2 separate regions of the Homo sapiens genome follow, and region 1 is linked to region 2. Evidence: promoter capture Hi-C in 16 types of primary human blood cells and fetal thymus (Javierre and others, 2016). All regions are on one chromosome and are shown on one strand. Each heading gives the region's core, a stretch centred on a gene start or on the middle of the fragment in contact. The rest is flanking DNA. Distances are from core to core; before and after follow the strand shown.

Region 1 (2,700 bases), core at 105-2,604, 590 kb after region 2:
CACCTTGTATTGTCATTACCTGCTTTCACCACTAGACCATGACATTATTAAGGTGTGGGGTTGATTCTATTCCGCAGTGGATCCCCTGCAGTGCCCAGATCATTGCATATAGTAGATGCTTAAAAAACCAGGGTAAATTGAAATGAATCACATCAATGATAGCTTCAGCGTGAAGTTTCTGAAAATTCAACTTCACTGTTATGACTACATATGTTAAGTCAATATAACGACAAAGTCATGAAGCTTTTCCTTTATGTTTTCTTCTAGGAGTTTTAAAAATTCATGTCTTATGTTTTAAGCCTTTAATCTATTTTTAGTTAATTTTTATGTATGGTTTAAGATAAGGGTTTAATTTCAGTTGATTGCATGTGGATATCCAGTTTTCCAATTTCCATTTGTTGAAGAGACTATCCTTCTCCTGTTGTATGTTCTTGGAATGCTTGTGAAGATCAGCTGACCATGGTGTGTGGGTGTATTTCTGGGTTCTCTATTCTGTTTTGTTCATCTGTATGTCCGTCTTTATGTCAGTACCATAATGTTTTGATTACTCTAGATTTGTATTTTGAAATCAGGAAATGTGATGCCTCCAGTTTTGTCCTTTCTCAAGATTGATTTGGCTATTCATGGTCTTTTATGGCTCTACATGAATTTTAAAATTGTATTTTCTATTGCTATAAAAATGCCATTTAGATTTTGTTAGGGATTACACTGAGTTGGTAGATTGCTTTGGGTAGTATGGACATTTTAACAATAATAGTAGCTCTTCTAATGCAGGCTGTCTTTCCATTTGTTTGTGTCTTAGCTTCTTTCATTCATGTTCTATAGTTTTCAGTATACATCCATTTCATCTCCTCAGCTAAGTTTATTCCTAGATATTTATTCTTTTTGGTGATAATGAAAATGGATTGTTTTTGTAATTTCCTTTTCAGATGGTTCATTGTTAATGTACAGAAAAGCAACTGATTTTTTTTCTTCTACCATAAGCTATTTCTTACTGGAAGGATAATTTTTAATTTTTTTTTATTTTTAATTTTTATTTATATTTTTAGAAACAGGGTCTCACTCTGTTGCCAAGGCTTCAGTGCAGTGGCACAATCAAAGCTCACTGCAGCCTCAAACTCCTAAGCTCCATCAATCCTCTTGCCTCAGCCTCCTGAGTAGCTGGGACTATAGGCCTGTGTCACCATGCCTGGCTAATATTTTATGTTTATTTTGTAGAGAAAGGGTTTTGCTTTGTGGCCCAGGCTGGTCTTGAACTCCTGGCCTCAAGGGATCCTCCCGCTTCAGCCTCCCAAAGTGCTGGGATTACAGGCATGAGCCACTGCACGTGGTCAGATATTTGTATGTTGATTTTGTATACTGCAACTTATTGAATTCATTTATTAGACAGTTTTTTATGGAGTCCTCAAGGTTTTCTCTATATAAGATCATGTCATTTGCAAACCAGGGCACTTTTACTTCTTTGTTGCTGATGTTGATGCCTTTTTATTTTTTTCTTGCCTAATTGCTCTGGCTAAGACTTTAATCTTGACAATGATTTCATGGATATGACAACAAAACCACAGGCAACAAAAGCAAAAATTAACAAGTGGAACTACATTAAACTAAAAAGCTCCTACCCAGCAAAGGAAGCAATCAACAGAGTGAAAAGGCAACCTACAAAATGGGATAAAATATTTGTAAACCATTTATCTGATAAGGGTTTAATCTCCAAAATATATAAGAAACTTCTATAACTCAAGAGTGAAAAAACTAATAACCCAATTCAAACTGAGCTAAAAACTTGAATAGATATTTCGCCAAAAAAGACATAAATACAGCCAACAGTTATATGGAAAAAAAATGCTCACCATCTCTAATCATCAGGGAAATGCTAATCAAAACTACAATGAGGTATCAGCTCAGAACTGTGAAGATCGCTATTATAACAACCTAAAAACCAAAAGACAATAAGTGTTGGTAAGGATGTGGAGAAATTGAAACACACACTGTTGGTGGGAATATAAAACGGTGCAGTCACCATGGGAAACGTTATGGAGGTTCCTCAAAGAATTAAAAATAGAAGTGCCATTTGATCTAGCAATTCCACTCCTGGGTTTCTATCCAAAAGAATGGAAATCAGGATCTTGAGGAGATGTTTCCACTTCCATATTCATTGCAACATTATTCACAATAGCAAAAATGTGGAAACAATGTAAATATTCATTGGCAGATGAATGTATAAAGAAAATGCATGTTCATACAATGCAATACTATTCACCCTTTAAAAAAAGGAAATTCTGCAATATGAGAAAACATGGAGGAACCTTGAGGACATTATGCTAAGTGAAATAAGCCAGTCACAGAAAGACAAATAGTGCATGATTCTACTTATCTGAATTATCTAAAATAGTAAAATTCATAGAATCAAATGATGTTTTCTGGGAGATATGGGGAGAGGGAAATGGGCAGTTAGTAAAGCTTCAGTCAGCAAGATGCATAAGCTCTAAAGATCTGCTGTACAACACAGTACCTGTGGTCAACAATTATGTATTGTATACCTAAAAATTTGTTGAGGGTAGATCTCTTGTTAAGTATTCTTATTGCAATTAAATATATATATATATTTATATAAAACAAATATACACACATATAGTCACTATTTATTGGTTTGCCACTCTGTATTATTTTATCTAACATGTGGTCAAACTGAAATGTCAA
Region 2 (2,906 bases), core at 214-2,713:
GAGTTGGAAGATGAGGATCTGAAAATTAAAACCCTTGCAACATTCTATACCCTGTGAAGTCTTGTGGGCCTAAGGGTATGTGCACAGTTTGGAGACTGCTGGGCAACAGAATTGAAATTCCACTCTGAAAGTATCTAATATAATGCAAATATAAGGTGTTATTTTTAAACCAAAAGCCTCTCTGCATTTCTTTGAGGCATCCTAAGCCTTTGGAAATTTTTAAAACAGGTATCATGTTCTCTTCATCAGAATGGAGGGTCAACAAGAGATTATAATCTTGCTGGTGTAGCCAACCAACTGTATAGTCTTGGATAAACAGTTCAGGGAGTCCCAGGAATTGGTTCTACAATTTCTCTGAGTGCTTTAGAACTTCATTGCTTTTGTTTTAAGCCTCTTCCTAATAATCTTTTAGCGTGTGTCTTAGTCACCTTTACCCTGAAATTCCTAGGTCCATCCATGAGTTCATTATTGGGCCTTATGCCCATGTTCTGTTCTCCAGGGAGGTTGAAGAGGGCCTTTTAGTGCCAGAAATAGAAAAACTTTCAAAATGATATACTAATAATAACCTGCACCTGTCAAGATTATCATATTGTGCCAACAGAGGAGCTGCTTATGCAAACTACTGTAAATTTGTACATGGGAAGACAGAGAAGTGTGTACAGTCACCTTGGAAATGCACTTTGAACATCTCTGTCTCCTAATATGTACGGGGTAAAGGTTGAAAGTAAATTATTGACAATGGGGGAAAAAAACAGATGCAAAGAAGACAACTTTATTAGGTGCTTTCTCTCCCTTATGAGAAGGATTTGGTTCTTTCAGGTGAAGTTCCAAATCACTAGACAATACCCAGTTTCCTTCAGTTGCAACAAGTTCATCCCACGGTGGGTGCTCTGAAAAGCACCTTGAGGGCGAATGGGTCTCAGGCCATTCAGGATCAGGTCCGATGCTTTTGTTGAAGATTCTTCCCGTGTCACCTCTTAGAAGCAGTTCGGTGTCCCCCTCCAAAGAGCCCACCACCTGGCTGCGCCCCACCTCCATTTGTCCCCCAGTTGCCAGGTAAGGGTACCCAGCTACCAGGTAACGGTGAGTGGTTCAGAAGGTGCCGCTGCGGGGGCAGCCAGGCCTTCACACGCAATCACTGGGGAAGAGGCGAGGACACGGGTGGATGCTGGAGGCGCGCACGTGCGCAGGTGCTCGCGCATCCACACACACACACACACACACACACACACACGCACACACAGGCACGGGGTGCGGGGCGAGCAGGGGGAGGGGACGGCCTTACCAGATCAATGAACGTCAGGAATTTCCAGCTCCCTCCGTAGGTCTGGTGTGAGGGCATTTCGATGGCCTTGTAGTTACACAGGATAGAGCAGTAAGACAGCAGGATTGCCATCCGCAGCACCTGGCAGGGGACAAGCGCCATGTTCGCCAGAGGCCTGGACCGGCTGGGCGGCAAGGAGGGCGGGCGTGAGGGAGGCGCCGGGCGCGCGGGGGCGGGCGCCGTGGGAACCCGGGCGCGGGCGCGGGCGCGGGGCGGGGCGGGGCGGGGGCGGGGGCGGGGGCGGGGCGCGCGCCCCCGGGGACTGGCGCGGCCGCGAGCGCCCGGGTGACCTGTACTGGCCGGGCGCGGTTTGCGGACGCTCTCCACTGCCGGCCGCGGCCTGGCAGGCGGCGTGTCGTCATCTCTTTCGTCACCTTCGTCATTCTGCTCCTGCGTTCGCAGGGTCCCGGGACACCCGGCCAGGAGGCGCCCCCTAGGCATCCCAGGTGTGGATGCGACCTCTGAGTGCTACGAGGGCTCGGGAAGTGCGCGCTGATCTCCAGGGGGAAGCGGGCCCTGTGGCTAGTGGGCGCCGGGCCGGGCGAGGGGGCGGGGAACCTAGACTGAAGGAGTGGACCCCAGTGTCCACAAATGTTCCCGCCCCGGAATCGCGGTGACGCTTCCTGGGGTAGTTGCAGTTGGCCGAGAGCTGGTGCCCCGTGCGGAGGGATCCGGTGGGGGTGTGAACGTGGGGTGTAAACCCGAGCACAGGCAGCCGCGAGTGACTTTCAGTATTTTGGGGCAATAAGGTTTTCAGTGTTGACAAACGACTGTCAATCACTAGGAAACTCTCTCAATTCTGCTTTCAATGGGTAGGCTACGCAGCACTTTTCCATGACAGATTGAATAATGTCATATCAGTATATAACATCAGCTAGAATATGAACTTTGGACAAGAGGTTTATAGATAAAAAGCTATAAAGAAAGGATTTTCAAATAACTTTCTGCCACAAGATTGCATTCAGCTTTAAAAAATTCCAATTTTGGATGTAAAACCCCTGCGTGTAATTTAATACTAATCATCTGGTTGTTAAACTGGTTTTGCCCTTACTTTTTTCTTACACTACACTACCAGGGCTTAATGGAAGGAAAATAAATATAAACTGGAGTCCCTCCTGCCTTCCAGTAAATGTTGTCACACTGAAGTTGCATCAGTCTGTGGGCAACATTTTCATTTCAGCCAACCAGTTGCAGGTTCGGATTATGAAAAGGCAACATAGGTATTTCCTGTGGATCCATTTAAAACAGGTGTCCTCTTCAAATAGTCTCTGAGTCAGAGGATGTGGAGGGAGGGCTGGTGGGGAGAAGCATAGTGCTAGAGGTAAAGAGAAAGTAGCAAGCAAGCCATGGATGTTTTCCTGAATGTTTCCAATCAAGCTCTAAACTAAAATGAAGAGACCCACTAGATTTTTTTAATTGGCATTATAATTATGCTAATAGAACTGATGTCAGAAGAAGATTCTACTAGCATTAAAACGATGTATTATTGATGATTTTTGGTTAAATCTTAATGTAAAAGTTGGCTTTATTTTTTTAATTGTGCATCCTTGGTACATGGTTATAAACTGCCAAAAAAATAAAA

The links. The method cuts DNA at HindIII sites, captures the fragments that hold promoters and counts their contacts. A CHiCAGO score of 5 or more calls a contact.
Region 1: a contact is called between a fragment that was not itself captured here and the fragment with the promoter of AIG1 in region 2, in 1 of 17 cell types (activated CD4 T cells). The highest score is 6.7, in activated CD4 T cells.

What each region holds. Positions count from the first base shown.
Region 1 is chr6:142,470,657-142,473,356 of GRCh38, reverse strand. No RefSeq gene overlaps it. Among named protein-coding and RNA genes, the nearest start is that of ADGRG6, 170 kb to the right of the region's middle. The HindIII fragment of the contact is 2,217 bases long and covers 246-2,462 here.
Region 2 is chr6:143,059,446-143,062,351 of GRCh38, reverse strand. It overlaps AIG1 (androgen induced 1), which reads right to left and starts at 1,463. Exons shown (of 6, transcript NM_016108.4): 1 at 1,286-1,463. The coding sequence starts at 1,426. RefSeq lists enhancers at 924-973, 1,574-1,703, 1,529-2,467 and silencers at 1,164-1,233, 1,484-1,573. The HindIII fragment of the contact is 5,617 bases long and covers 1-2,906 here.